Regions from separate parts of the Homo sapiens genome. Here regions 1, 2, 3, 4, 5 and 6 are each linked to region 7. The links are contacts of gene promoters, found by promoter capture Hi-C in blood cells and fetal thymus (Javierre and others, 2016). All regions are on one chromosome and are shown on one strand. Each heading gives the region's core, a stretch centred on a gene start or on the middle of the fragment in contact. The rest is flanking DNA. Distances are from core to core; before and after follow the strand shown. Region 1 overlaps RAPGEF4 (Rap guanine nucleotide exchange factor 4). Region 2 overlaps HOXD10 (homeobox D10). Region 3 has its middle 15 kb from the start of EVX2. Region 4 overlaps HAGLR (HOXD antisense growth-associated long non-coding RNA). Region 5 holds the start of HOXD-AS2 (HOXD cluster antisense RNA 2). Region 6 holds the start of HOXD3 (homeobox D3). Region 7 holds the start of SP9 (Sp9 transcription factor).

Region 1 (2,700 bases), core at 135-2,634, 1.4 Mb before region 7:
TGCAAACGTTGGAATTGGGCTGGCACTTCTGGAACTCTTCAGTTTTCTTTCTGCTGAAATAACAGCTCCCGAGAGATGGGAAAGTGAAAAATAAGGAATCTAATTTTGGGAGACAGATATTCCAACTCTACATGTACATACACACACACACCCTTTTTTTTTTTTTTTGATCTGCTAATAATCTTTGGAGCTACTACTTTATTTAAGTGGAAAGAAAACAAGCTTAGTTGATCAAGAATTGCCAGTATCACTACTGTCCTTGAAGGGACCAACCAAGCACTTCACTCCTGGAAACTGAGGGCATGTTCAGAGGTCCTGGAAATGTTGACTTTCTACTGCCGAAAGTGCTAAGTCATTAAGAAATGTGGAGGCATGAGATGCATTGGCTTCATACTGACCAGGGCAGGACCCCCAACTTTTAAACTCAGCACGGCTGCATTTTATAATAGTCACCACTGCCAGAGAGGTTGCAGAACTCTGATAATTACTGGGAAAGAAATAACACAATATTCTTTGATGAGAAGATTACTTTGAGAATTTGATTGTATAATGAAGATGTTGCTTTGAAAGGTACTTCCTATTGTTCTGAATCTGAGACTTGCTAGCAAAAAAAAAAAGTGTCACTTGTTTTGACAGGCTACTTAGAAAAATTCTCTGTTTATTACATTAACTGCAGCATTTTAACTGTCAAACTATGAAAGAATGTTCTGTAGTTTAAAAAACAGAATAGAGCTTCAGGGGAAATTTTTTGGCACACTCTTGTTGCTATTGGTATTGAAAAAAAACACATACATTCTGCATGTGAAATTAGCTTTTTATGTGGTGGCAGACAGAGTGACTCACAATGCCCGTCCTGGTTTCGCAGGTGCAGACCTGGATGGCATTTGGGGGCAAGTGCTACAGAACGATGACAGTTTGACGGTGCTGTTGTTGTAGCTCTGAGACAGGGCCATCAAACACTGAATGAGCTCTCCAAGCTTATTGTTTTGATTTTGCTTTGTTTATAAATCTAAAAACAAGAGGTTGCCCTATAGCAAGTAGATATAATGGGTACTCTTACCAGTAGAAATGTGCATTTTGGCTTTCTTTGAGCAGGTACTTTGGTTAGAGAAATATGAGTAAAAGGATCTGGAGTGACTAGGTAAACAGAGTATTGTAAACTTGAGGCCAACTGTGGATAAAAAAGAGGCTTCAAGGAGACAGGACGCTCTGCTGTACAAGCCTTCCAACCACTCCTTCCAAGTAAAGTGAGACATAGGTTCCAATGTTCAGGATGGTCTATCAGAGACCAGCCTAAAGTTGGGAGGACAGTTAAGTAGACACTGTTTCCCAAATCAAAATTTAGGTCTGCAGTTCTGAAAATGCCTAACAGTAGAAGCCTAAGTAAGTTGAGAAAGAGAAAAGTCATTTGGGCCCGAGCAGAGAGAAATATATGTATATATAAGAGAATTGTTAGAAGTTGGGGAATCTTCCAACTGGGTCAGAAACACACAAACTTGAGTTCGTTTATTTTATGTGATAAATTAATATTTCAGTTGCCCTTGGGATTTTTCCCATCTCCCTAGGTTTTTTGAAACTTTTTAAACATTGGAATTGGGCTGGCAGTTTCTTCTTTTGACTCTTTCTGCTGGAATAAGAGCTCTGAGAGATGGGAAAGTGAAAAGTAAGGAATCTAATTTTAGGAGACAGACAGTCCAACTCTACATGCACGTACACACATACCCCATTTTTTTTTTGATCTGCTAATAATCTTTGGAGTTACTATTTAATTTTACTTAAACGGAAAGAAAACAAGCTTCGTTGGTCAAGAATTGCCAGTATCATTGTTGTCTTGAAGAGACCATCTGAACACACCTTGCTCCTGAAAACTGAGAGCATGTTCAAAGGTCCTGGAAATGGTTTTTTTGTTTGTTTTCTTATTGCCCATACTCTGCTAAGGCATTAAGAAATATGGAAACGTGAGATATATTGGCTTCATATCAAACATATGCTATAGGGCGTAAAGTTGAAAGGCAACAATTTAAGATGGATTAAATGACATAAAGGCAAAATACTGTGGGCGGGGGTGGGGAGGGTATTGTTTATCCCTTAATTGGCTGCCCTAATGCAAGGCTGTCCTGCAGAGGCTGGGTGGAGACTACCCTGCTGCTGTTCGATTCCACACACTTGCTCTAGAGGGCGCGTGAGAGCCTGTGTATTGTGTCTTAATTAGCAGTGCCTGTTTTAATAGGATCTTTATTTGTCTAAACTCTTTTCCAGGGTGTGGAATTTAAAATCCTGGTAATTATAGAGGGATTTGTTTCTTCGGGGGATTCCAGATTAGCAAGCCTAAAATTGGTGGTGGTTAGGGTTTTGATTTCTGCTGGGATGTGTCAAGAGAATGTCCACAGTTACGAAGTTCATCTCAAATGTTAATCAGATGAGAAGAAAAGCACGACCGAAAGAACCTAGGCTTCTGAAGTAAGACAGTCACGGCGAATCCTTCCTTCACTGCATGGTGACCTTCACCTTGGTCTTTACTGGAAAGATTTTGGCGTCACAAGTGAAAGCTTGTAGAATTTACCTGAATAAATGATTGCATTAAGTAGGTCATTTCTCTGCCTCTCCCCATGAAAGCAATTTATTCTTATTCCTCATATCCACATGGCCTGAAACCAGCCATTGGATTGCTACCTTTATGATTAAGATTCAGGAGAGGGG
Region 2 (2,700 bases), core at 134-2,633, 1.8 Mb after region 7:
CGACTTGGCAGGTGCTGCTCCGCCTGGTTTTAGAGGGGTGATCTCAGCCCTGAGATAGTCCCCGCTTCTCCCCTGCTGCCCTGGCCCTCTCCGCCAGTCCTGGCCCCACGCTGATGGCGCCCGGGCAGAGGAAAAGCTTGCCGGTTTTATTTTTCCTGAGCTAGACCTGAACACAACAAAAGAGCGCAAAGGAGACCTGCGGCTCATAAACACGACCACAGAGCCTCTTTTCTCCTGCTCAGATTTGCAGTTCCAGTTTTGCCTTGAGCCCAATGATCATGTTAAGGTGATCCAGGGCACCGTGTTCGTGTTCAAGTGTATGCACCCCGCATCCTGCGAGCTTGGGGGTGGTGAGGGGAAAGAGATGGCTGGGCTGGTTGGTGCTTGAGTTGGGAAACAGGGCTTACTGCCTTTGCTGGGCTAGGTAACCTTGGCTTTGTTTAGGAAAAGTGCTGCAGTCTTTGCAATCCGTCGGCAAAGAGGGCAAAGGCGGAGGGGGAGAGTGGAACCCGCATTGCCCTCCCTGCAAGGCCAGCCTTAGGGCTGGGCTAAGGCAAAGAGCCAGGGATCTGGCTTTTTGAGAAGGAACCCTCCTCCTCTCCCCCAGTGCTTAGAGGTGGGCCACAGTAGGGGGCTCCCTTTCTGGGGGAATGCTTTAGTGTGGGGGCAAGAAGACATGAAAATTAAGGAAATTCTGGGGAATGCAACAATACCCAGGCAAGGTGGGGGAAGGTGTCTCGCTTCCCCATTTATCTTTTGAAAGAGAATGGGCACCTATAAACCTGACTGTCAGGATTCCTGACTGCCTAGGAGAGGTGGGGAAGAAGTGGCAGATTTGGGGACCTGAGGCAGCAGTGGGGTTGGTAGGCTTGTCCAGGTCGTGGCGTATTCCCCTCCGTCCCTGTTAGGAGCTGAACCCTTAGAATGTTGCTGGGGAGATCTGGAAAGTTTACTATTCTACTAATGTTTTGTACAAGTGAGAAAGTTGAAAGAGAGAGCGAGAACCCAAATGCAGACTGTCCTGCCATCATGTCATTTAAGTAATGTGGCATCAATGTAAGATTCCCTTCCAAGGCCCACTTCATGTGAGTAATGTTTAATACTAGCATTTTCCAAAGCGGCCTGGCTGCCAGCAGGGTCACGGCCAAGGGTACATTTGAACAGTCTGAAGAAAAAAACAAAAACGAAAACCAAAACCAAAACCAAAACAAAAACAAAAACAAAAACAAACAAACAAAAAACCTCTTGATTTTTTTCTTCTTCTCCCTTTAATTTTGTTAGAGGAAATCAAGTCTGATACACCAACCAGCAATTGGCTCACTGCAAAGAGTGGCAGAAAGAAGAGGTGCCCTTACACTAAGCACCAAACGCTGGAATTAGAAAAAGAGTTCTTGTTCAATATGTACCTCACCCGCGAGCGCCGCCTAGAGATCAGTAAGAGCGTTAACCTCACCGACAGGCAGGTCAAGATTTGGTTTCAAAACCGCCGAATGAAACTCAAGAAGATGAGCCGAGAGAACCGGATCCGAGAACTGACCGCCAACCTCACGTTTTCTTAGGTCTGAGGCCGGTCTGAGGCCGGTCAGAGGCCAGGATTGGAGAGGGGGCACCGCGTTCCAGGGCCCAGTGCTGGAGGACTGGGAAAGCGGAAACAAAACCTTCACCGCTCTTTGTTTGTTGTTTTGTTGTATTTTGTTTTCCTGCTAGAATGTGACTTTGGGGTCATTATGTTCGTGCTGCAAGTGATCTGTAATCCCTATGAGTATATATATATATATATATATATATATATAAAAACTTAGCACGTGTAATTTATTATTTTTTCATCGTAATGCAGGGTAACTATTATTGCGCATTTTCATTTGGGTCTTAACTTATTGGAACTGTAGAGCATCCATCCATCCATCCATCCAGCAATGTGACTTTTTCATGTCTTTCCTAACACAAAAGGTCTATGTGTGTGGTTAGTCCATGAACTCATGGCATTTTGAATACATCCAGTACTTTAAAAATGACATATATATTTAAAAAAAAAAGATTAAGAAAACCCACAAGTTGGAGGGAGGGGGACTTAAAAAGCACATTACAATGTATCTTTTCACAAATGAATTTAGCAGTTGTCCTTGGTGAGATGGGATATTGGCGATTTATGCCTTGTAGCCTTTCCCTTGTGGTGCATCTGTGGTTTGGTAGAAGTACAACAGCAACCTGTCCTTTCTGTGCATGTTCTGGTCGCATGTATAATGCAATAAACTCTGGAAATGAGTTCACTCCCTCTGCTTTCTGAAATGGAAATATGTTATGGTGGAAATGAAAGCCTATGGTGAGATTATCTTCTGGTTACACTCCCTGTTTGGGGCATTTGGGCAGGGGAGTGATAGACTAGTAGGGGAAGGGAGATGGGGGAGAAAAGCTGGAGGAGGCCTAGGGTGTTGGATTTTGGCAGTGGTTGGGGGAGAGGAATTATAAGCTAGCTTGAGAGTGAAGTTTTCATAATTGGGAGGAAGGGGAGTCTCCTCTTTCCTTTCCCAGTCCCCAGTGATAGTAACATAATTGCGCTCTCAATGGGTGTGAGCTTTCCTCTGGCCTGAACCTGGTAAGTAAGCCTATACCCCAAGCCACTTTCTCCTCAAAGCTTCCCATTTGTGTGTTTTCTCCTCTTTGGTTTTGGTTGTGTTGTTTTTAATGCTTTCAGTGGCA
Region 3 (2,700 bases), core at 165-2,664, 1.7 Mb after region 7:
AGGGTCGTCTGGGGAATCTCCACAGGGCGCCTAGCCATTTTTAGGGGCCTCTGTTCCTTCCCCACCTGCCAGCTGCCTCTGTCCTCCAGTCCCCAGAAACCGCGCGGACCCCTGCGCTCTGGGGAAGGCTTAGGGAGCGGAGAATAGAGGTCAGGGGTGCGACCAGTTACACCGAAGAGGCGGCTAGAACTCTGAAGTGACAACCGCCACTTTTCAGTACTCAATGCACAGAGTTCATCTGTGTTCAATCTCCATGCTGAGCGCCCAAGACCCTGGCAAGTAAGACTTGGGTAAGGCCAGCAAGGAGCAAGTCTGTTGGAGGCTTTCAAGAGCCTACTAAGGAGGACAGATATAGACAGGCTTTTTTCCATGAGGGGAAACTGAGGTTTCAACAGAAGCATCTACATGTTTCAGCCTGCACTCTCTGGGCATGGCCAGTGGCTCCAGGCCCCGAAATGAGCCACTCCGCCTCATCTGCACCCTCCCCGTTCCCTAAAAATCCGAACGAACTGCTCGCTCCCAAGGTCAGGATCTTACGGGGCCACTTTTTCGGATCTCCCAGGATGCTTCCTGGTGGAGTGGGCAGCGAGGTTTCCAGCCGGGCTCGCCCCGCCTCCAGAACCTCGGGCCACAGTGCTTTAACGACGTCGTCGTTCCGCTTGATGCGAGGGCCGCTTGGTGAACTGTTGGCGACGTCGTTCGCAGCCCGAAGTCCCTGTAGCAGGTCGGTATCACACATCTGCTACTTGCCTTGCGCTGTCGCCAAGCGTAGTCCCAGTCCTTCCCGTGAATTTCAAAAGTGGCATTGGAGGCTCAGACAGGAAACAGGCGTGAGGGGCTTACACACTTGAGCTTGCCCAAGCCCTACCTCCCACCCAGCGGGCTTCCTCCCGCTTGCCATGGGCCAGGGATCAAAGGAACAATAACTACAATGGCCACCATTTATTGAACATGCCAAGCAAACTTTAAAAGGTTTTATTGTTTCGTGTGAGCCTTACAACAACACAGCGAAACAGCTTCTATTATGCCCATTTTACAGATGAGAAAACATGCAGCGAGATTAATAGATCGATTACTTGAGCCCCAGTCAGGAAGAGCCCAACATCCTGCTGCTTTCATTTTGGAGGGTGAGAAGTGGAGTGTGTGGAAGAGAGGCAAAATGGAGCCTACAGGGCTCAGTGGGGCTCATGACCCTTCTCATTCCCGAAGTCACCCACCAAACAAACTCTGCTTGAGGCCCCTCCCAGCAGGGGCCCTGGGAGGAAGGTGGTGGAAGACAGGACTGACTGAGGACCTTGAGCCAAGGGAGAGACTCATCTCATTTGGATTCCAAATGTTTTAGCTGTGTGACCTTGGGCAACTTGCTTAACCACTCTCACTTCTGTTTTCTCAGTTATAAAATTAGAATCATAATGCACAAGGCAGATAGGAAACTCTTAAGAGCTTTCTGAGGATTAAATAAAGGGAATTTATTTTTCTTATCTTTCCCTGTTGGTTTCCCCATGCCTAGCACAGTGCCCTGGACACAATGAATACAGGATAAGGTATTTTCCTTTCTTTCAGCTTCTTCCAAAGCAGCACCAGCTGCATGGCACCTCCCACCCTGCCCTAAACCGCCTGACTCTGTGCGGGCACAGGTCGAAGCAGAATATTTGCCTCTTCTGCCTCTTCTCCCTTGGCCTCAGGCCCGGACCAAGTGAAGCTCTTGGGAACAGGCATTTGGTGGACTGGTCTCAGCCTCTGGGACTCAGAGGGCAGCCGGCAAGGGTGGATGGGCGTAGAAGAGGGAGGGAGCAAGACCAGGTCCTCAGACTCCTTACTCCTTCCTAGTGTTGGGAACAACTAATACATACAACTTACTCTACTGTCAGGCCCTAGTGTGAGCTTTAAACACACTGTATTAACTCAATCTTCCTGAGAAGGAGGACTTACTATTCTTATTTTAGGGATGAAGAAACTGAGGCAGAAAGCAACCTGATTGTGGTCACACCACAAATGAGTGGCTAAGCAGAGATTTCAACCACAAAGCCATACAACCTCTCGCATTTGGAGAGTATGAGTGGCAAAGGCACCCTTAGCAAGAAGAGAAGGCCAGTTAGAACCTTAATCTGCAAGATTTCCCCCAGGCTCCTAAGGTCTGGAGGCCTGTGGGTAACCAAACACTGCTTGTCCAGCTCTGCCTCAGCAGCTCCATCCTGGCCTTATCCTTGAGCCTGGACACCTTGAGGTAGTCACCTCACACACCCCTGAAGTCTTGGACCTTGTTGTCCCTGAGTGTAAGCCTGTTCCCAACCCTATTCCACCTCTGCCTCAGTTCCCTGTCCCCTGCCCAACCTCTGTGCTGCCTCTATCATCAGTCTGTCACTAGCACCATTCTGTGACCGTCCTCGTGGCCTCTCTGGGTCTGAGTCCCTTCACTCTGTGCACATGGTTTTGGGTTTGTTTGTTTGTTTTGTTTTGTTTTGTTTTTCTCTGCTTGGATATCCAGTTGAATTCCCAGGAAACCTCTGCCCCACCCCCACCTCCACCTCATTTTTCTCCTCTGGAGACCCTGCAGGGCACAGGGACTAGAGCGATCTCCAGGCCATTGCTTTCACATTTATTTTGGGGTTTGTTTCTTGATGGATCCAGAGGCTGTGAAGAGTTCTGGATTCTGGATGATTGATGTGAGCAGAACCTGGCCCAGGGGAGAAACCAGTA
Region 4 (2,700 bases), core at 33-2,532, 1.8 Mb after region 7:
ATTTTGTAAATATTAATGTGGCTTCTGCTAGGGGTGGACAACTTCCCGGCTTCTATGGGAGGGGCCACTTAGAAAACGCCTTCAGATAAGGTTCAATTCTTTTGTATTTCAGCAAAGTCAGCCCACGCATCTCTATTTGGTTTGACAAATAATGCAACTCCTACTACATCCCCGATGACACGAAGTGAAATTCCTATTGTGTGGAAATAATTTAACTTCTAATCTTCTGGTGGAACAACAATCGTTTCTATTTGGATGTTTGTATTTCACTAAGTAATGATGGCTCAAAATAATATTTAGTTTCCTTGTTCCTTTGTGCTGTTTTTAAAATGGCATGTTAGATTTGGGGGTGGGAGGGGATATCCTTTTGCTAAATTTCACTTTATCTGAGCAGGTTTAAAATATATATGTTGTAGAAGTGTATCAACAGAATAAATGACTTCAATCGAAGGCACATTTTACCCACTTTCAAGGCTTAACATTGTTTTCTATGAAATTTGCATCCATAGGCAGAATTTCTAATTGTCTTGTAAGAAATTATTTTTTAAGCTATTAGAGAAATCAAAGGAGAGCTCACTGCCTTGCAGGGATTACAACCACCTTTCTTAACTGGCTAAATATTAACTAGCTGAATTGTCAGGCTGCTTAGATTCAGCCCGATTTTCCCTCATCTCCTCTTCCTACCATAAATAATAATAAAAATACGTAATGTGTCATGGCTCCAGGCGTTTTCCAGCACAGTGTGTTACCGCAGGAGTATCTGCTGAGTCTGCGGGTGTCTGCAAAGCCCCAAGTGTCATTTGCGGCTTAGGGTTTCATGGATTAGACTTTAAACGGTGTCTAGCCCGGCTGACATTAGCTTCCTCTCACACTCAGGCTCCAAGGAAGTGTGGGATCAGGGGCTCCCTCTCCAGGCAGCCACAGCTTTCCCCGACGCCCTCCTCTCGAGTGGGGTGAGGGCTTGGACCAAATCTGCCACCTTCTGTCATCTCTGGAGGTTCCCGAGACTTCTAATAGCTCGGATCTGTTCCTGCCATTGGCGTGAGACTCATCTGAGGGGCGTGGGTGGGGGTGGGCGGCGAGCCGGGGGAGGGCGCGTTTCCGCGCGGCTGCCAGCCCAGGAGAAAGTTGGGGCCCGCGGCACAGCCATTTAAAACTTCATAAATTATAAACAAGCCGCCTTGGCCTTCGCAATAAATTCCGCTCCTTTTGAGCCTGCAATTAGTGTTAGAAAGCAACCGAGTCTAAACACAACCAAACGCCCTCTGAAGGGCCCAACTGCCTGAGGTTGCAAACCTTTATTTCCCAGCGCCACCCCCTCTCCGACTGAGGTTTGCACACACAGTCGCCTCCTCCCCCGCCACCGCCGGCGGTACACACTCGGCTGGGTTCCCGCTCTGCAAGGGAAGGTCACAATAGCTGCTCTATCGGCTGCGGAGGCGCCTGCCGCCTCCCTCCCGAGTCTCAGAAGCAGAAAAACAAGAGAATGGGGGAGGGGAGGCCCCAGCAACAGCGCCCTTTGCGGGAGGCAACCTCCACCCTAGCCAGGGTCTCTCTCCTGGGACGAGTGCTCGCAGAGGGTTGCGGGGAGGGCAAAGGGAGCGCACCAAGACCACCAGGCTGCTCCAGGCCTTGCCGCAGGGCGCTGGGTTGAGGGTGCCCGGAGCAGCCGCGCCATTGTGTGTCAGGTTTTCCCACGGGATCCGTGATGGGGGAGGCCATATAAAGGGAGCTCGGATCCGGGCCTCTCCGGCATTGGTCTCTGGGAGGGTCTACCTCGTTTGCCCAAGGGGAAGAAATGGCTCTGTCTCAGGCCTTAGCCAGCTCTGCTTTTTTCCTAGAGACTACTTTGGGGAAGGTGGGGATCAGGGAGATTGTGGGTCCTCCTGGGGTCTGAAGAAAGGGGTCAGGGCAGGATCTCAGGCCCATGGCTGAGGGGTGGCAGTCGTCTGGACATTCTAGGTGGTTCTGTCCAGGCAATCAAATATGAATTAAGGCAGGATAGCTGTGAGGCAGCCAGAATGGCCAGCTGCAAAACGGGAGGTGGGGGTGGGGAAGGAGATGCAGACAGTGAGAGCTTTCCCTGCAACCAAGAAAAACTCAGGATCCAGCCAGGAGTTGAAGTGCTGAGACCCAACTGAACTAGCCAGGAAGAATGGGGAAGTGGCAGAAGAAAGGCCTGGAGAGTAGTCCTGGTCACTGGTAAGCAGGTCAGAAAGGGCGATTAAGTACATATTCTGTCTCCTGGCTTTCAGACCTCCACCTTATCCAGGGACCTGACAGAGAAAAATCTGCCTCTGATGGAATCATTAAGTTAACCATCCATTTGTACCATTTCTTTGTACAGGCTTTCAAACGAGAGAGAGGAGAGAATACAGGAGGAGAATGTTTCCCCTTGGTGCAGCCCCAAGCTCCCTATCAGAGACACATCAGCCAAATTAGTTTCCGAGGCTCACAGGCTGCTAACATTGCTGAACAAGATTTTTCGAATTTCTATGTGTTAGGAGTATTAAAAGATAGTGATTACCTATACTAGCAGCCTTTGTCCCTTTTCTCTTCCCTAGTCTGTACCAGCCCACTGGCCCTTGAGTGAAGTGCATCTTCTCAGCCTGCGGACTTGGGAGCTCAGGCTCTCCATCTGTTGAGGTTTTTCATTAGGGAGACTACAGAGGATGTGTGTGGGTGTGTGTTTGAATAACA
Region 5 (2,700 bases), core at 42-2,541, 1.8 Mb after region 7:
CTGCAGAACCTCCCGGGAATGGGAGGGACCCCAATTTATGTTGGAGTGGTGTGTTGGGGGCACATTTTCTTGGCCTGCAGATCCCTCGTTTTCTTCCCAAGGTAACTGGGGCTGGCTTGCAAGATGAGAGGGAGGAGGGGAAACCGAAAGTGGTTGGCTGCCTCTGGGGACAGGCCTTTTCCTGAGGGGAGAGGAGGAGAAGCCAAGTGACTAGCACAGGGTGAGAGATGGGAGGAGGTAGCTGTGGGGATCGCTTCCCCAGAGCGTGAGCAGTACATTGAGTTCATTTCCCTCCTTCACGATGGCCAACTGCGCAGAGGTTTTGAGCCAAACCAAAGAAAAGAACACACACACACACACACACACACACACACACACACACGCACACACACAAATAAATCCTAGAAAAAGAAACAGAGGAGGCGGGGAGGGAGGGAAGAACCACGAAGGGAAGAAAAAGGGAAAGGTGAAGAGGGACAGAGAAAGAGAAGGGAGGAAGGAGAGAGAGAATGGAGAGAGAGAGGAGGAGGAGAAGGAAGAGAGGAGGCGGGGGAGAGAGAAAGCAGAAGAGGAAAAAACATGGCGCTTGCGAGCTGTATGTGCAAAATCCGCAAGGAATTGCAGTAAATTCCTTTTTGTTTGAAGAAAATTTACAACTTGGTAATAGACCTTTTTATGACCTATTTGCGGTCGTCATTGGCTGCGGCTGGTCATGTGCAGGCGCCGCTCGCCTTCACGGCCTTTTTCCTGATTTCCCCGGCGAATTTCCCCCCGCATTCTGCTTTCCCAGAGCCTCACCCCCTCTTTTTCTAACCTTTGTCTCTGCAGAGGTGGGCTCCAGTCACCGGCTGCGGGATTGCGGAGTCCGCCGCGGCCTCGGCTCCCGCCCGGCGCCCGGCCTGGCCCCACCGCCGCTCACTCGGTCCGCATCGCCGCCACCTCCGGAGCTGGTGGGGAGCCCGGCGAGGGAGGGCCTGGAAGGGGCCCTGGGCGCCGAGTCCCCCGCCGGCGCCGACACCGCCTGCCAGGAGCAGCCGGCCTGCTCGAGGTGACTGCAGCCGCGCGGTTCTGGCGCGGCTTCTTCACCAACATGAGCGGGTCTCTGCGTCCGAGAGTGAGCGCAGCCGGGCAGCGCCTAGTGGATTACAGCAGACGCCCGGACCGACCGCCGCCTGTAGCTCGGCAGCCTTCGGGTAAGAATCGCCCCCTCCCCGCTCCCCAGCATGCCACCAAGAAGCCTGGGGCGCCGACCCCCTTGGGCAGCTCAGTCCGGCTGCTCCCCTACATTTCCCGGGGAAGTGGGGGGTCGCTGTCTAAGCCCCTTCCCCCAATCACTTCGTTCCTAGGGCGTCCCCTGGGGCCTGGGGTGGAGTCCGGCTGGGTTCAGAAGTCTAAGGGGGCAGTATTATTTCAAAAATTCTGAGATACGGGTAGCCACAGACAGGATCCCACTGCCTAGATGGAGAGCCCCTCAATCCTACCCTAGGAAAGTGTATAGACGGGTTACTACTGAACATCTCCACTTTGCTGGGGGTCACTAAAGGCATTTTATATAGAGCTGTGGTTTTTGTGGTTTACCTGTGGCCGTGGCCAGAGGTTCCTGGGAGGCTAACAGGTGTTTTTTGAGGGTTGGGGCTTGGGTGGGGGTGGGGTGAATTCTCTGTTTCTAGGATGTGCTTGGTGTTTGAATCTAGGCTTTAGTGACTGATGCTGGTTAATTTCTAGGGTTGATGGTTTATTGGGCCTTGTGTTGTATGAGATGGAATTTTAAATATTTTTAAATGTTTCTCTAGTTCTTAGAGAAATTTTTAAGCAACTCAAGATAGGCTCTTCCCGCATATGATAATCCGTCAGGTGAATTTGGATTCTTTTATATCACAAAATGAATCCATGTTTTGGGAGGTAATGGTATCAGAATATATGGTGCAGGTCTTGGTAAAAACCCAATAGATCTTTGAGAAATACAAGACATCTCTGTGTTGAAACATCGTGTGTTTCTTATTTGCCAGAGTAGGAAAAGAGTAGATCTTTTTGCTCTCTAAATGTATTGATGGGTTGTGTTTTTTTTCCCACCTGCTAATAAATATTACATTGCAACATTCTTCCCTCAACTTCAAAACTGCTGAACTGAAACAATATGCATAAAAGAAAATCCTTTGCAGAAGAAAAAAAGCTATTTTCTCCCACTGATTTTGAATGGCACTTGCGGATGCAGTTCGCAAATCCTATTGCCTATTCCCTCATGAACATTGTGAAATGAAACCTTTGGACAGTCTGCCGCATTGCGCATGAGACTGCCTGCGCAAGGCAAGGGTATGGTTCCCAAAGCACCCAGTGGTAAATCCTAACTTATTATTCCCTTAAAATTCCAATGTAACAACGTGGGCCATAAAAGAGTTTCTGAACAAAACATGTCATCTTTGTGGAAAGGTGTTTTTCGTAATTAATGATGGAATCATGCTCATTTCAAAATGGAGGTCCACGATTTGTGGCCAGCTGATGCCTGCAAATTATCCTGGATCACTAACTCTGATCACTTACAAATAAGAAACTTGAGTGATTGTTATTTTATTTGGAGTGTTTGTATTTTGTAATTATTTCTCTACTACAGTACAATGACCTTTGAGGTCATTCTTTGATCGGGGTAAAAAACATTCCCCATTGAAAAGCAGGCACCTGGATAGTGGCTTCTAGGCCCTG
Region 6 (2,700 bases), core at 29-2,528, 1.8 Mb after region 7:
GGCTCTCAGACTTGCACATGGCAATACTTGAATGTCACCACGTCGGGATATTAAAGATGGATATTCGTGCATTATTCACATCATTGTTTCTATGACAAAAAGCACAGAGTTCATACATAGTCAAGACGTCTTTTTTCTGACGCCCTCACGTTGAGAAGCTGAAAAGGTATTTTACCGAAGTTCGGGTAAATTACAGAATCAGGTTCATCCAGAGGACAAATTTTCTATTTGATTAGCTGTATTTCAGCCGGGAGGACTGACCTCTAAACCCCTAACCTTTTGGACTCTAACTACCCTTCTCTTCTTTTTTCCTCTCTAACATGGAGAGCAGTCTTTGGATGTACCATTTGAAAGGAGCCGCTATCCTTAGGCAAGTTGGAAAGTTGCTAAGCTGCTTTCCTAAAACCCAAATCTGTCTATACATTGAACCTTCTCTTTGAGAAGGGGAAAAAGGTATATATTTTCACAACATCCAATTACATATATATAATAGAGATTTGTTGTATAGATTTTCCCCCACCTCAGAAGTTCAGGTTACTCACCCCCAGTTTCATACCAAATGCCACACAGGCTTAACTGACTGCATCCCTGCCCCAGAGGAAAGCCAAGAAACATGTTTTCATGAGGAAAACCCAAGCTCCTTCTCAAACATAGCCCCACTACTTTGGAAAGTAACTTAATCAGAGAAACAACTTCTTTGTTTATAAGTCTCAGCTCTCCTTCTCAGCTTGGAGGGATTCTTTTGAAATGTTAATGGAGCCTGGATGGCCCAGAGTGCAGCCCCCAACCCTGAGGTCCCAGTCGGACCCCAGCATCCATTTGGGCCCACAGGAGTGGGCCAGGGAAGGGGTAGGGCCCCGTAACCACTTAGGGCAGGGAAGGAAATGGGTTTCCATCTGAGAACGTGCTTTGGAGAAAGCTAGGTGTGGAAAAGCTCCAATGCCCATTTGCTATTATTTGTTTCCAGTTTGTTCCTTTAAATATGAGCCAGAAGTGTTTGTGTTGGTGTTTTAAAAACAAAAACAAAAACCGTGTTGGGGTCCTGACTGGGGGAGGGGGAGAGTGAAGTGTTTGCTGAGGACATTGCTCCTCTGACTCCCATCTCACTTTGTCCATCGCAGCCTTTTGTTGGGAGATGACACTGTCAGTCAGCCCATGATGTCTGTTCACACGAGATGCTTTTTTAATAGAATTGACCAATGTTTTGCTGCCACTGATTAAAGTATTATTTATACTAATTGTTGCTTGTAGTTTTGATGTAATTCATTGATCTATATTTAAAATAATAAAAGGTGTAGCAAAATCTCCCTCCTGTTTGGTGCCTTAACAGAAGCATTCATCCTTTGTTAAGTCTTCTAAAAGCTAACATTTAACATAAACAAGTTATTATTTTCTGCAATAAATTAGGCACCATTTTTTGGGGGGTGCCTAAAGTGTGAAGGTTAAACCATGTAAGGCTTAGCAATTCTATTATTACCACCTCCTTAATGTACACACACTCCCAGTTGGCCACCATATTTTGTGAGCATTGGGAAGCCTGGGGTTGAATTCAGGGTACAGAGTGTTGGGTGTTAATTTTTTGAAGAAAAAGTAATTGCCCAGGTTAATAGGGGGATCCAGGTTGGCATTCTGCTGGGCCCGGGCCAGGCCCCAGACCTTTTTGGTCTGGAAGCCCTCAGAGGAAGTCTTTGGGAAGTGGTGGATGAGACACCTTACTGGTCCCCCACCCCTAAGGCAGGGAGAGCGTGCTGGGTTCTGGGCCGAGCTGAGGCTCCTGGGTGGCTGCTCTGACCTGACCCCCGGGCCTCCACTCTTGGGCTTCTACTTTTCCAGTACTGTTAAGCTCCTGTGGGGACTCCAGCACCTGCCCCTCCTTCTTCCGCGCCCCCTCCACCCCTCAGGCAACAATAAACACTCCCCACTATAAAAAGTGCCCTGCACTACATTTACCGCAAGGGCTTCTTTACATCTTGGCCTCGCCTTGAAGAAGGGGCCAAGACAGGAGTCCCAAAATAGATGGGGGTGCTTGTTCCAGACAGGAAATGAGCAGAATGCATAAAATCAGACATCTGTCCTTAATATATGGAAGGGCTTGCCCCAGACGCGTGGACATGTGTATTTATAAGTGCGCAGGCAGAAGTTTAAATATTCAGACACATTTTATGATTGTCCTCTGCCCGTCTTCTGCTTAATGGCTCCTCCCGTGCCCACCAATACATCAATACCGTTGTGTGTATTGAATCGCGGGCAGGGATGAGGAGGAAGCGAGTCCATAGCAGAGCCCGCTGAGTATAGAGTACAGTAAATCGGGACCCTCGGCGGACGGCGCTTCCCGCCCGCCTGCCCGCCATGTTGGGGAGCCCTCCCTGCCCCCCGCGCCGGGCTGGGCGGCCGGGGCTCGCTGGCAGCCGGGGGAGGGCCTTTCATAACCCGGAGAATTTTCTAAGTGCGAGGAAGATGATAAGAATAGATTTCTACAAGTCCCGACCACGTGATTGGCGAAATAATTAATTCAGCACGTCCCTTAAGAAACACGGAGTCGTCATTAATCTGCCACGCAAAGGGCTCTCTCCGACTTGGAAAGTGCAGGGATCCCAAGAATATCACCCGTCCAGGGGGGCCGCGCGGTGCCCCCGGCCCTCCACCCCCGGCCCCCGGCGGGCGCGGGAGCGCGGCCGCAGGTAAATATTTTGGCAACTT
Region 7 (2,700 bases), core at 47-2,546:
GGTCCTCCGCCCTCCCGGGTGAAAGTCCTGGAGAGATTTCTCGGGCGCGTCCGTGAAAGCAGGGCACTAATGGGGAGCCTACCTCTTAAAACAGCGCACTTGCCCTACGGACGAGCCTCTAGGCCCTGGTGGTCTGGAATGGGAGTGGGTTGGAGCTGGGACAAGAAAACTCCACTCCAGGATGAAACGCGACATGCAAATCTTCACCGGGTTAAACAAACAGCCGAGCAAGCTGCAGCTTCAGCGGAGGTGGAGGTGGGGGCGGACGCCGCTCGCGCCGGTCTCTGTTTCCAAAGTTGTTACAGTGAGAAAATAAGCGGCTTCGTGCAGCGTGTTGTATGGGCTGATGCCTCCCACCCCCATGCCAGCCCACAGCAAAACCCGGCAGATAATCAGCACATCCCACTGTTTAGTCATATTTGACAACTGGGTTAACCTGGTATCTAAGCGCTGGCGAAACCGTACAAAGGGTGCCCTCAATTACCACCAGAAGCCTCTAGCGTGAGTGGCACTTGTATTACCCCCCGGGTCAGAGGCCAGAGCGACAATTAGGAAGTCACTTACACCGCTGGGGGGAAATGGCGGGATGCAGCAGGCTCCAGGCCCTCCCAACAAATCTGTGGATGTAGATCTGTACAGAGAGGCCTATTTCGCTCCTCTCGGAGGAGCTGTCCCTTCGCGCCCCCTCCCCAGTATAACTGTGAGAGTGAAATTGAATCTAGTGGAATAAGGAATTGGGTAGAAGACACACGAAAATGATAAAAATCACAAGCAAGAATGATAGATACAAGCTGAAGTTGTGTTCTGTAGGCAAAAGCCTGGACACACAAAGTGAGGGCTCACATTTCCGTCTCCACTTGGGCCCTGCTGGTGCGGGCTGTGTCTGGGTGTCTCCTCCCCTCCTGCCTCCTTTCCTACAAGTGGGGAGTCGAGTAGGACTGTCAGCCCTAACTTGCAACATCTCGGGGTGGTTTGTGTGTGGGGGGGTGCTTGTGGCTCGGTTTCATTGGTACTTAAACCTGGCTTGGTGCGTGAGTGTAAATTTTTAATTGCACTGTAATTTCTTCAGTCCCCAGCCCGCCCTCGCCCCCCCCCCGCAAGTATCCCCCACTACTCCCCCCCACCCCCGCGGCCCTAGCTAGCTGACTTGACTGGCACGCGCCGGGAGCCCGGGCTCGGGCCCCTCGGAGCGTCTGATTGGCTGCGGGGCAGCTCCGGTCTGCTCTGCCTGCGCCCTCATTGGGCGAGAGGCGCAGCCAGCGGCACTTCAAAGCGGGTGCTCCTCGCACTTAGGCTGAGTTTAGCCGGCGGGAGCCTGGAGTCCGCTCGGCACGAGCGCGGGGACGCGGGAGCCGCGCGGGACCCAAGCAGTTTTTCCGAGCAGCCGCCAGGCTCAGCCCCGCTCCCAGCCTCGCTGCGCAGCCAGAGACCTGCTATGGCCACGTCTATACTCGGGGTAAGTCGCAAGCGCGGCAACGCATTTGCTTGTTTTAACCGGAGTAATTTTTCGTTATGGCTTCTGGGGTCTGCGGCTCCGGAGAAACTGTTGCTGCTAGACTGCAGCTTCAGCTTCTATTAGCACTTTCCACATTTCTGGGACTGATTTTTCCCCAAGTTTTTGGAACCCAGAAAGATGCCTTTGCAAGAAAAGGCCTTCTTAATCAAGTCCTTTTTCATTTGGTTTCAAAAAAAAGCTAGAGGTTTCTTTTCTTCCCCTCGTGATTTATACCCCATCCCCCGCATTGCTTTGGGGATTTTGTTGCAATTATGCGACAATGGTGTTTCCAGAAAACAGTCTTAATCGTTTTGCAGTCCATCTAGTCACGCTAATAAACATTTACATTTCCGCGGCTCCCCAATTCGCCCATGACTTTGAAATCTGTCTCTGGCCGCTTATCCTCGGATTATTGTTTTCATAATCGCTGTTTTTGTGTGTATGTAAACTTTAAAACCAAACGTTTTCTATTAAAAAAGAAAAGTCAAGTCGTAGCCACCCTGGGAGAGCTGCAAGTTTCGCCCGTCCCTGGCAGCTGTTTCGGCCGCCTCCGCCCTCACCCGGTGTTTGTTGTCTCTGGTCTCTGTGTTTACCTTCGCGCTTCACCCCGAAGGGCGACTTGGGGTCTTCTGGGAGATGAGCCGGTTTACGGCGACAACCCAAGTCCGGTTGTAGGCAGGGTTGCAGCGGGGAACACGGAGGCATCTTTGATTTATAGCCTCAGCGAAGTGCAACTTTCCGGCGCCTGGACCTTCGCCCGGGTGATCGCCCCTGCTCCGCGCCCGGTGCGGCGACTCCTCCGCGGGCGCGTGGGGAGGAGGCGCGAGGCGGGGAGCCAGGACCCCCCGGGAGCAGCCGCAGGGGACGAGGCTGCTCACGGGTGCACTTTGTTTCTTCCCCCACTTCCTCTTGCCCTCCTCCTTCTTGCTCCCTCCCCCATCCCACCCACTCTAGGAAGAGCCGCGCTTCGGAACGACCCCGTTGGCCATGCTGGCGGCGACCTGCAACAAGATCGGCAACACGAGCCCGCTGACGACGCTGCCAGAGTCGAGCGCCTTCGCCAAAGGCGGCTTTCACCCCTGGAAGCGCTCCTCGTCCAGCTGCAACCTCGGCTCCAGCCTCTCGGGCTTCGCGGTGGCCACCGGGGGCCGTGGCTCGGGCGGCCTGGCGGGCGGCTCGGGCGCCGCCAACAGCGCCTTCTGCCT

Evidence for each region. The method cuts DNA at HindIII sites, captures the fragments that hold promoters and counts their contacts. A CHiCAGO score of 5 or more calls a contact.
Region 1: a fragment that was not itself captured here is called in contact with the fragment with the promoter of SP9 in region 7 in 1 of 17 cell types (fetal thymus); the score reaches 12.4 in fetal thymus.
Region 2: a contact is called between a fragment that was not itself captured here and the fragment with the promoter of SP9 in region 7, in 3 of 17 cell types (total B cells, naive B cells and naive CD8 T cells). The highest score is 17.4, in total B cells.
Region 3: a fragment that was not itself captured here is called in contact with the fragment with the promoter of SP9 in region 7 in 2 of 17 cell types (naive B cells and total B cells); the score reaches 7.5 in naive B cells.
Region 4: a fragment that was not itself captured here is called in contact with the fragment with the promoter of SP9 in region 7 in 2 of 17 cell types (total B cells and naive B cells); the score reaches 13.7 in total B cells.
Region 5: the fragment with the promoter of HOXD-AS2 here is called in contact with the fragment with the promoter of SP9 in region 7 in 4 of 17 cell types (total B cells, naive B cells, naive CD8 T cells and 1 more); the score reaches 20.3 in total B cells.
Region 6: a fragment that was not itself captured here is called in contact with the fragment with the promoter of SP9 in region 7 in 2 of 17 cell types (total B cells and naive B cells); the score reaches 17.7 in total B cells.

Annotation. Positions count from the first base shown.
Region 1 is chr2:172,970,030-172,972,729 of GRCh38, forward strand. The region is part of intron 10 of RAPGEF4 (Rap guanine nucleotide exchange factor 4); the gene reads left to right. Among named protein-coding and RNA genes, the nearest start is that of MAP3K20, 100 kb to the right of the region's middle. The HindIII fragment of the contact is 818 bases long and covers 976-1,793 here.
Region 2 is chr2:176,117,673-176,120,372 of GRCh38, forward strand. HOXD10 (homeobox D10) reads left to right here. Exons shown (of 2, transcript NM_002148.4): 2 at 1,282-2,265. The coding sequence ends at 1,559. Among named protein-coding and RNA genes, the nearest start is that of HOXD10, 2.2 kb to the left of the region's middle. The HindIII fragment of the contact is 2,499 bases long and covers 135-2,633 here.
Region 3 is chr2:176,067,953-176,070,652 of GRCh38, forward strand. No RefSeq gene overlaps it. Among named protein-coding and RNA genes, the nearest start is that of EVX2, 15 kb to the right of the region's middle. The HindIII fragment of the contact is 4,486 bases long and covers 1-2,700 here.
Region 4 is chr2:176,173,764-176,176,463 of GRCh38, forward strand. It overlaps HAGLR (HOXD antisense growth-associated long non-coding RNA), which reads right to left. Exons shown (of 3, transcript NR_033979.2): 3 at 1-2,700. Among named protein-coding and RNA genes, the nearest start is that of HAGLROS, 3.1 kb to the right of the region's middle. The HindIII fragment of the contact is 2,951 bases long and covers 1-2,700 here.
Region 5 is chr2:176,135,807-176,138,506 of GRCh38, forward strand. It overlaps HOXD-AS2 (HOXD cluster antisense RNA 2), which reads right to left and starts at 1,292. Exons shown (of 3, transcript NR_038435.1): 1 at 815-1,292. LOC401021 (a long non-coding RNA gene) reads left to right here and starts at 806. Exons shown (of 2, transcript NR_148241.1): 1 at 806-1,193. The HindIII fragment of the contact is 4,739 bases long and covers 1-2,700 here.
Region 6 is chr2:176,154,772-176,157,471 of GRCh38, forward strand. It overlaps HOXD3 (homeobox D3), which reads left to right and starts at 2,536. Exons shown (of 4, transcript NM_006898.5): 1 at 2,536-2,681. RefSeq lists an enhancer at 496-999. The HindIII fragment of the contact is 3,118 bases long and covers 1-2,700 here.
Region 7 is chr2:174,333,658-174,336,357 of GRCh38, forward strand. SP9 (Sp9 transcription factor) reads left to right here and starts at 1,297. Exons shown (of 2, transcript NM_001145250.2): 1 at 1,297-1,456; 2 at 2,450-2,700. The coding sequence starts at 1,436. It overlaps LOC102724194 (a long non-coding RNA gene), which reads right to left and starts at 1,319. Exons shown (of 3, transcript XR_427194.5): 1 at 83-1,319. The HindIII fragment of the contact is 13,141 bases long and covers 1-2,700 here.